2 separate regions of the Homo sapiens genome follow, and region 2 is linked to region 1. The links are contacts of gene promoters, found by promoter capture Hi-C in blood cells and fetal thymus (Javierre and others, 2016). All regions are on one chromosome and are shown on one strand. The core of a region is centred on a gene start or on the middle of the fragment in contact, and the rest is flanking DNA. Distances in the headings are between cores, read along the strand shown.

Evidence for each region. Contacts are between HindIII fragments. The CHiCAGO score rates a contact against its expected background, and 5 or more counts as called.
Region 2: a contact is called between the fragment with the promoter of ICOSLG here and a fragment that was not itself captured in region 1, in 1 of 17 cell types (total B cells). The highest score is 6.5, in total B cells.

Annotation. Positions count from the first base shown.
Region 1 is chr21:44,109,883-44,114,305 of GRCh38, reverse strand. It overlaps PWP2 (PWP2 small subunit processome component), which reads right to left. Exons shown (of 21, transcript NM_005049.3): 3 at 459-553; 4 at 28-127. Among named protein-coding and RNA genes, the nearest start is that of PWP2, 4.7 kb to the right of the region's middle. RefSeq lists an enhancer at 24-318 and a silencer at 2,991-3,193. The HindIII fragment of the contact is 821 bases long and covers 2,061-2,881 here.
Region 2 is chr21:44,239,004-44,243,943 of GRCh38, reverse strand. It overlaps ICOSLG (inducible T cell costimulator ligand), which reads left to right and starts at 3,001. Exons shown (of 7, transcript NM_015259.6): 1 at 3,001-3,140. The coding sequence starts at 3,127. RefSeq lists enhancers at 703-1,241, 3,746-4,524 and cis regulatory regions at 2,275-3,190, 2,266-3,190, 2,191-3,190. The HindIII fragment of the contact is 2,685 bases long and covers 1,888-4,572 here.

The sequences.
Region 1 (4,423 bases), core at 1,222-3,721:
CTCCTGCCCCCAAGCTGTCCCCCTTACCTGCCATCAGGGGAGAAGGACACACTGTGCACAGAGCCCTTGAAGTGGAAGTGGTGCAGCACAGACCTGCAGACCAGGCTGACCAGCAGCGCATCGCCCCCTGCAGGACGCCAGAGGTCACCACCGCGCAGCTACCCCAGGGGCCACCCCAGATACATAGCACGGGAAAAACGGAGAAAGGTCTTTCTCGCGTCCACTGTGAGGAGTCAGGACTGAGAATGCCCAAGGGCCATGAGGCCCTGCCCTGCCACAGGTGATGCCACAGACACAGCCTGCGGCGGGGACGCAGCCTCGCCCATGACACCCTCATCCCCAATCCCCACCCGGGCCCCAACACGGAGGCGACTGGGGAGCGGATCATTTCAGACCCACACAGCCCTGAGTCCTCCTCACTGGTCCCCTCAGTACCCGCCCACATCAAGGGCAAGTACCTTCATCGACGATGATAGCGAGGCGGCCATCCGGGGACAGCCCCACGCACTTGACGTTGTACCGAGTGGCCAGGGGCAGCGTGTCAGATTTGTTGCTGATAAAGACAAAAACCACAGTGTGCTGTTGGTCCTCAAGTCACATGAGGGAGACAGGCCAGGCCTGGCCTGGGACCAGCGGCTCACCCTCCCCAAGTAGCGCCTCCAATCTTACTGGACCCCACAAGCCAGAGCTCATCTGTGGATACCCCCCACTCCTGAAAAAGAAATGACATTGTTGGCCGGGCACGGTGGCTCACGCCTATAATCCTAGTGCTTTGGGAGGCCAAGGCGGGCATATCATAAGGTCAGGAGTACGAGACCTGCCTGGTCAACATGGTGAAACCCCGTCTCTACTATAAAAACAAAAAACAAAAAATTGGACAGGCGCGGTGGCTCACACCTGTAATCCCGGCACTTTGAGAGGCCAAGGCGGGCGGATCACGAGGTCAGGAGATTGAGACCATCCTCACTAACACGGTGAAACCCCGTCTTTACTAAAAATACAAAAAATTAGCCGGGTGTGGTGGCGGGCGCCTGTAGTCCCGGCTATTCAGGAGGCTGAGGCAGGAGAATGGCGTAAACCCGGGAGGTGTAGCTTGCAGTGAGCCAAGGTTGCACCACTGCACTCCAGCCTGGGCGACAGGGCAAGACTCTGCCTCAAAACAAACAAACAAACAAAAAAACCCAAAAAATTAGCCAGGCGTGGTGGTGGGCGCCTGTAATACCAGCTACTCAAGAGGCTGACGCAGGAGAATCGCTTGAACCTGGGAGGCAGAGGTTGCAGTGAGCTGGGACCGCACCACTGCACTCCAGCCTAGGTGACAGAGCAAGACTCTGTCTCAAAAAAAAAAAGAAAAAGAAATGACGTTGTCCCTGGAGGAACTCTAGTGAAATGCATTAAAAGCCTTAAAAATGGGCTTTGGATACATCAATTCTGCTTCCAGGATGATATGATGAGAGGATTATTCCGCCTCAGTGTGACATCAAAATACCAGAAGCAAGCTAAGTGCCCAACAGGAATTAACCACCATGACAGTGCACCCATGTAACACTGTTGCTAGAAAAATGGAAAATAAGGGGCTACAGGAATCCCGCGGAGATGCTGCAGATAACGCTTACACTGCAACTGAGTGAGGCACACACATTCCAGCTTCCCCATAAGCAGCCGAGCTGTGTTTACACCATACTGTAAACAGTACGGCGTAGTCTACTAGCGTGTGCTGTAGTCTGTAAGCGTGCACTGTGCTCTATTCGTGTGAGTTGTAGTCTGTTCGTGTGTACTGTCGTCGAAGTGTGTACTTTATTGGTGTGCGCTGCAGTCTACTCATGTGTGCTGTAGTCTATCAGTGTGCACAAGCATTCTGTCTAAAGCAACAACGTGCATCCCTTAATTTAAAAACACTTTACTGCTAAAAAATGCTAACAATCATCTGAGCCTTCAGTGAGTCTTCATCTTTTTGCTGGCAGACAGTCTGCCTCGATGTGGATGGCTGCTGACCAGGCACAGTGGCAGCTGCTGAAAACGGGGTGGCCGTTGCCAATTCCTAACACAACAGTGAAGCTTGCCGTATCGATGGACTCTTCCTTTCACAAGATGTCTCTGTAGCATGTGATACTGTTTGATAGCATTTTACCCACAACAGACCTTCTTTCAAAACCGGAGTCAATCCTCACAAATGCTCCCAGCGTTTTATCAACTAAGTTGATGTCATATTCTAAATCCTTTGTTGTCATTTCAACAGTCTTTACAGCATCCTCACCAGAAGTAGATTCCATCTCAAGAAACCACTTGCTGGCCGGGCATGGTGGCTCACACCTGTAATCCCAGCACTTTGGGAGGCTGAGGCGGGTGGATCACCTGAGGTCAGGAGTTCTAGACCAGCCTGGCCAACAATGATGAAACTCCTTCTCTACTAAAAATACAAAAATTAGCTGGGCGTGGTGGTAGGCGCCTGTAATCCCAGCTACTTGGTAGGGGGGCCCGAGGCAGGAGAATTGCTTGAACCCAGGAGGTGGAGGTTGCAGTGAGCCAAGATCATGCCATAGCACTCCAGCCTGGGGGACAAGAGTGAGACATTGTCTCAAAAAAAAGAAAAGAAACCACTTGCTTTGCTCATCCACAAGCAGCAGCTCCTCATTCATTCAAGATTGATGGCAACATTGCGGCAATTCAGTCCCATTTCAGGCTCTGCTTTCATTTCGAATCCTCTTGCTATCTTTACTGCATCTGCAGTAACTTCTTCCACCAAAGTCTCGAACCCTTCAAAGTCATCCATGAGGCTTGATACTAAACTTCTGTCAGACTCCTGTTAATGTCGACACTTTGCCCTCATTGAATGAATCATGAAATGACAACTAGAATGGCGACTCCTTCCCAGAAAGCTTTTTATTGGCTTTTCCCAGATCCATTACAGGAATCACTATCTTTGGCAGCTAGAGCCTTATAAAATATATTTCTTAAATGGTAAGACTTGAAAGTTAAAGTTACTCCCGTAGGCTGAAGAAGAGATGTGGTGTTAGCAGGCATGAAGACAGCATCTCCTTATGCGTCTCCATTGGAGCTCATGGGTGACCAGGTACGTTGTCCAACAGCAGAAATATTTTGAAAGGAACCTTAGTGGGTTCAACAATGGGCTGGAAAGATTCAGGAAACCATGCTGTAAACAGATGTGCTGTCGTCCAGACTTTGCTGTTCCACTTATAGAGCACAGGCAGAGTAGCTTGGGCATCATTGTGAAGGGCATTAGGATTTTCAGAACAGTGAATTAGCACTGGCTTCAACTTAATGGCCCCAGCTGCATTAGCCCCTAATAAGAGAGTCAGCCTGTTGTTTGAAGCCAGACACTGACTTTTCTCTAGCTATGTAAGTCCTCGATGGCATCTTTTTCTTTTTTTTTAATTTATTTATTTTTAGATAGAGTCTTGCTCTGTTGCCCAGGCTGGAGTGTACTGGCACGATCTCAGCTCACTGCAACCTCTGCTTCCCAGGTTCCAGCAATTCTTCCACCTCAGCCTCCTGAGTAGCTGGCATTACAGGAATGTGCCACCATGCCTGGCTAATTTTTGTACTTTTAGTAGAGACGGGGTTTCACCATATTGGCCAGGCTGGTCTCAAGCTCCTGGCCTCAAATGATCTGCCTACCTTGGCTTCCCAAAGTGTTGGGATTACAGGCATGAGCCACTGCGCCTGGCCATCTTTTTCCAATAGAAGGCTGTTTTGTCTCCATTGAAATTTTGTGTTTAGTGTAGTCAGCTTCATCAATGATCTCAGCTAGATCTTCTGGATAACTTCCTGCAGCTTCTCCATAGCACTTGCTGCTTCGCTTTGCACTTTTATGTTGTAGAGATGGCTTCTTTCCTTAAACTTCATGAACCAACCTCTGCTAGCTTCCAACTTCTTTCCTGCAGCTTCCTCACCTCAGCCCTCACAGAACAGAGGACAGGTAGGGCCTTGCTGTGCATTAGGCTTTGACTTGCTTAAAGGAATGTTGTGGCTGGTTTGATCTTCTATCTGGATCACTCAAACTTTTATCCGTATCTGCAATAAGGCTATTTTGGCTTTCTTGTAATTTGTGTGTTCACTGGAGTAGCACTTTTAATTTCCTTCAAAAGCTTTTTCTTTGCATTCACAACTTGCCTGTTTGGTGGCAGAGACCTGGCTTTTGGCCTATTTCAGCTTTTGACATGCCTTCCTCACTAAGCTGAGTCCCTTCTAGCTTCTGATTTCAGGTGAGAGTTGTGTGACTCTTCCTTTCACATGAACACGTAGTGGCCACTGTAGGCCATTATTAACTGGCCTAATTTCAGCATTGTTTGTGTCAGGGAATAGGGAGACCCAAGTAGAGGAAGAGAGACGTGGGGGGGTGGGGAACAGCCGGTCGGTGGAGCAGGCACAGCACACACAGTGCTTACCGATTAAGCTCGCT
Region 2 (4,940 bases), core at 1,752-4,251, 130 kb before region 1:
CCTAAGGACGCATTTCTCAGAAGGAATGTATCCTTTTCGTTAAACAATGTATGACTGTTCCCCGAAGAGAAAAGATCTTCCTTGGACCAGAAGTTGAGCTCTCAGCATCAGCGGACGCCCATGCTGTCAAACGCAGGTTGCTGTGCCAGACCCCAAAAGGACCCGGGCCTGGAGGTGCATCAAGGTGGAGATCAGAAGACCCCCACGCCCTCGAAACGGCAGAGCAGGGCGGCCTGGGGCTAGGGGCATCAGGCAGCTGCTTCCTGCTTAAGCACTACGACTCGCACCCAGAGCCTCGAACTCCAGGCTGCACAAATACGATTCCTGCTTGGTTCCCAGTTGGCCCTGGACGCTGCCAAGGGGCCCTCTCTCCACACCCCTAGAACAAAAGCCTATCCTGCCGGCCCAAGAAACAGTCACGGTTGAGGGGGAAAACGAAAACCTTCCTTTGACTACAGGAAACTTCCCAAAGGTTTCCCTGTTTCTTCATCTAAACCCATCTAAGTGTTGTGACACATGTGCCGGTGTGCTGTGTGCGTTCACTTACAACAGCCCCATTCATGTATATGTCACACGTCAGGGGATGCAGGCACCAAGGGGCTAAGGAACTTTCTGGGGTCACACAGCTCCGGAGTTGGGATCTGAACCAGCCACCGCTTACCGTGGTCTCCGAGGTTCCTGGGCTGGTCCTGGCACCCTCCCCCGCGGCCGCCTCGGCCTGCCTCAGTGTCCCCTTCTGGCCCAGCTGCCTTCCTGCCCCTGCCTGGCTGTGGCCTCCACGCGGCGTCCCCTCTCTCGGGGGGGCGGGGGGGGGGCTGCCCGCAGCACTTGGCTTGCTGGGGTCTCCGGCGTCTGCCCGGGAAGCAGAGCCTGGACCTGCCCCCTCGGCCACAGCACGGCGGGCCCTGCGGTGTCGGCCCCTCTCCCACCGCCCCCGGGCGGCACTGGGGGGCTGCGGGGTCCGGACGCACCGACAGGGCACCTTCCCTTCGCCGCCGCGGATGACCGGCCGCGCTCTTGGGAGGCCTTAATTTGGGAGGCTCTGCTCCCCCAGGACCCATTCCCCATCCTCCCAAAGCCCCCACGCGGTATCCGGGGGCCGTCCCCCTCTCCGCAGTCCCGCGGGTGGAGGGGATTCAGGTGCGCCCGGCCCTGGGGGTGGAGCGCTCGGCCCGGCGTCAGCTCATCGGCGCGGCGCAGCCCCGGACCTCAGCCGCAGGCCCAGAGGCGCGCGGTTCCCGGCCGGTCAATCAGGGAGGGCCTCCGGGAGGAGGTGGCGCTGCCCGCAGCCCGCCCGGCTCACCTGCGCCCTCCTCACCTGCGCCCTCCTCACCTGCGGGGCCATGCGGTCCCTTACCAGCAGCCGCCCGCCCCGGGGCGAGGAACCTCAGCCCCCAACATCGCCACCCCTCCAGCCTCGCCGGTCCTAGCCGGCGTCCCTGGGCGTGTCCCGGGAAGCGCACGTCCACGCTGGCGCTGGACCGGGTTTTCTGACTCCAGGGACGGGACTCGTCCTAAAGAGTCCGGCTCAGATGCGGTTACGCGCCTCACCTCACCCGGGTGCGGACCGCCAGTGCCTCCGCCCTGCACTCCGCGGGCCCTGCCCAGCTCTTCCCGCCGGAGGGCAGGTGGCCCCCGCCCCGCCCCTGCCAGGCGCGCGATTTTAAATCCCCCCAACCCCCGTCTCTCAGCGTGGCCTGGGAGGGGGAAGCCGCCCGGCTTCAGGGCTTCCTGCGCCTTCGCCGCCGCCCTCCCTGCCCTTCCCCGCCGCCGTCCCCCCTATCCCCCCAGCCCGTCTCTTCCGCCTTCTTATTTTGTGCCTGGGCTCTCTGCTCCGCAAAAATGTTGACTTCCCACGGGCAGAGGTTTCAGAATTTTTTTAAAGCTTTTGTCCACGGCGTTCTCTACATCTTGGTTGAAGGAATGGCAGCCTGCGGGGTGCCGTCTGGGGCCCCCGTCTCCCTGCGCTTCTCGCCTCCTCCATGCGCAGGAGGCGGTGGGGATCCGAGCCTCAGCCCAGAGGCGGGGGCTCCGGGAGGAGGGTGCCCCGCTGCCCTGTCTAGCAGCCTCACCCAGGCCCTTCCGGAGGTGCCTCTGCAGAAAGGGAGTCACGTCCCCCCTGGGCCTCACCTGGCTTGCAGGGATCAGGGAGGGAGGGCGGGGTGGGCTGGGTGCGGTGGGGAAGGAGCAGGGACTCTGGGTCCCACCCTCGGTTGCGTGGTGCAGCCTTTCCCAAACCAGCTGCCCCAGACTCCAGGCCAGACGCCACTGCCAAGGCTGACGAGCCCAGAGCCGCAAGCCTGCCTCGGTTTCTCGGCGGGGGATCCTCAGAGCCAGTGTTAAGCAAAGAGGCTGCGCCAGCGCCCTTCACACCCCTAGAAGGCTAGGGGAGCAAGGCTAGGTGGGGGCGGGCTGGGGCTGGCCCAGAGGGTAGAGCCCGCCCACTTTCCCTCCCTCCTTCCATTCATGCATGCGTTCATTCAGTCATTCATTCCTCAGCAGTCGCTGAGCTCACTCGCCTTAAGTCCTGGAGATCATCGGAGCGCAGCCGGCCAGGGGCCTGGCGCTCTCCCAGCCTTGGGGCCTGGGTCCCCGGACTCCTGCTCGGGGAGGGCCGCAGGACCGGCGCATTGTGCGCGGCGCGGGGAACGGCCCTTGCCTCCCACGGTGCCCTCCCTCGCTGCGCCGGCACCCGCAGCACCCCTGGCCACCTTCCTGCCGGGTACCCCCCACCCCTGCGCTTCCCAGGGCACCTACGGCGCCCAGGTCCGCGTCCAGGCGGACAGGCCGACCTGCCTCTGTCCCGCCTCCGGCCGACGGGCACACGCCTGGGCAGAGCCGAACTTTCCGGAGCCGCCGCGCAGCGCCCCGCCTCCTGTCCCGGGGCGGTCTCGGTCGCCAGAGGAGCCAGGCCGGGGGCGGGGCGGGGACGGGGCGGGGACACGGCTGCCTCCAGCACACCGCGCGCTGGGCGCTCAGAGCCTCGGGCGCGGCGGGAGCGCAGTTAGAGCCGATCTCCCGCGCCCCGAGGTTGCTCCTCTCCGAGGTCTCCCGCGGCCCAAGTTCTCCGCGCCCCGAGGTCTCCGCGCCCCGAGGTCTCCGCGGCCCGAGGTCTCCGCCCGCACCATGCGGCTGGGCAGGTGAGCCGGGGAAGGAGCGGAGGCGCCGCGGTCAGGGGCGGGGTGGCTCGGCCCGCGCGTCCCCAGCTCGGCTCGGACGCGGGGCCTGCGGGGCTCGCCTGGAGGTGCCGGGCTGGCAGTGCGGGTCCGAGGAGCGGGCGGCGGAGGCGCCGGGGCGGCCGGCGGGGCGTGGACGGCAGTGGGCGGCGGGGCCTGGCACCGGGACCCATGGCAGGACGCACAGCCGTGCGGGGGCGGGCTCGGGGGCGGGGTCCCTGCCAGGGAAGGAGGACCGCGAACGCTGGAAGGAGGGAGGGAAGGCGGGCGCACCCTGCACGCCGGGGCACGGGCGCTGCCCCTTCCACTCCCTGGCACTGCTGATTTCCTAGAAGAAGGGAGAAGGAGGGAGGTGACCGGCCGAGCGCTCTCCAAGGCCAGCTGGTGCCCACGGTCTGCGGACACGCCCTCCCCCACACACGTGGGATTCCCCGCAGCCCGGCAGCCGATCCACACTGGGGAAGGCGGGGCTGCCTGAACCAGGAGTGACAGCTTCCTCCTGGATTTTTGCGAAAATATCCAAAATATACTCTTCGCAACCCACGTTGTAGGGTCCGCAGCCTGTGCTCCCCTGGGTGAACCTGTGAGGCCCCTGACCCCAGGGATGCCTCCCGCACAGCTCAGAGCTGGGCCACACCGGAGTCACACTCCCCAGGTCCCCTCCCCATTAGAAGTGTATGCAGTTATGATCCTGCCCTAGAGAGAAAGAATTTAAAGGTCCCGGAATGTCATAGCCCTCCCAAATGTCTTAGCCCTCCGCCACCCACACCTTCAGGTAGGCGGCCCTGTCCATGCTGGGTCTTGAGGCAAGCTCGGGGTGGGGGTAGGTTAGATGCAGGGGTGCTGAGGGTCCAAGGAAAGGACACAGAGGCCGCTGCTTAGGCAGCACCCAGGGAGGGGACAAGCCAGAAACAGCCTGGAGCAGGCACCCCCCACCCTGGCCCAGGAAGCCCCCAGATGTCCTGAGGAGGCCTCCATAGACAGGAGGGGCCTTGTGGGCTGGTGATGAATATGGGCACTGTGGGAGACAAATGGGGGCACAGAGGAGTTCTCACAGCTGTCGTTTAGATGGTGGCTCTGGGGAAATGCTTGAAGGGGCTAAGGGTGGAGGCAGGGGGCCTGCTGGAGGCCATCACAGCCATCTTGCCAGCCAGAATGGTGGCCCCAACAGGGGGAGTGGGAGAGAGAGGAAGGGCCGCCTGCAGACTTCAAGAGCCCCTGGTGGCCAGGGGCCGCCTTGGTGCATGTGTGCTCACTTGGCACAGACACACCTCCATGCAGACTCAGATGACAGCCATCGTGGGTGGGGCAGGGGTTTCTGTGGCTCCAGGGCTCAGGGACAGCCCACTGGGAGGTTCCCACAAGACCAACCTTTGACTTACAAAGCCCCCAAGCTTTCCCAGGCAGAGGCCACAGAGAAGAGGGATGAGCGTCTCCCAGACCTTGGAGGTGCAGGGACATCAGAGAAGGAGATGTCCCTGCTCCTGGGGCTCTTGCTTCATGGGGAGCTGGCCCCAGAAACTGATGGTTTGGGGGGCTGGGGTAAGCACTGCTACCAAAGTGGTCCCGGCCACTAAGGGCCCCCACGTGGGGAAGGCATCCTGGGGGCTGGCGGGAGGAGGTGGCGAGCCTGTGGCGTGCAGGGTGCAAAGGCTCCCAGACCCAAGATGGCAGGGGCATTGGAGTCACGAGGGGAATTTGCTGCCCGAGGCAGGGGCACCAGCTGCAGCAGGATCTGAAACAGGAGGAGCTCAGGTTTGGTTT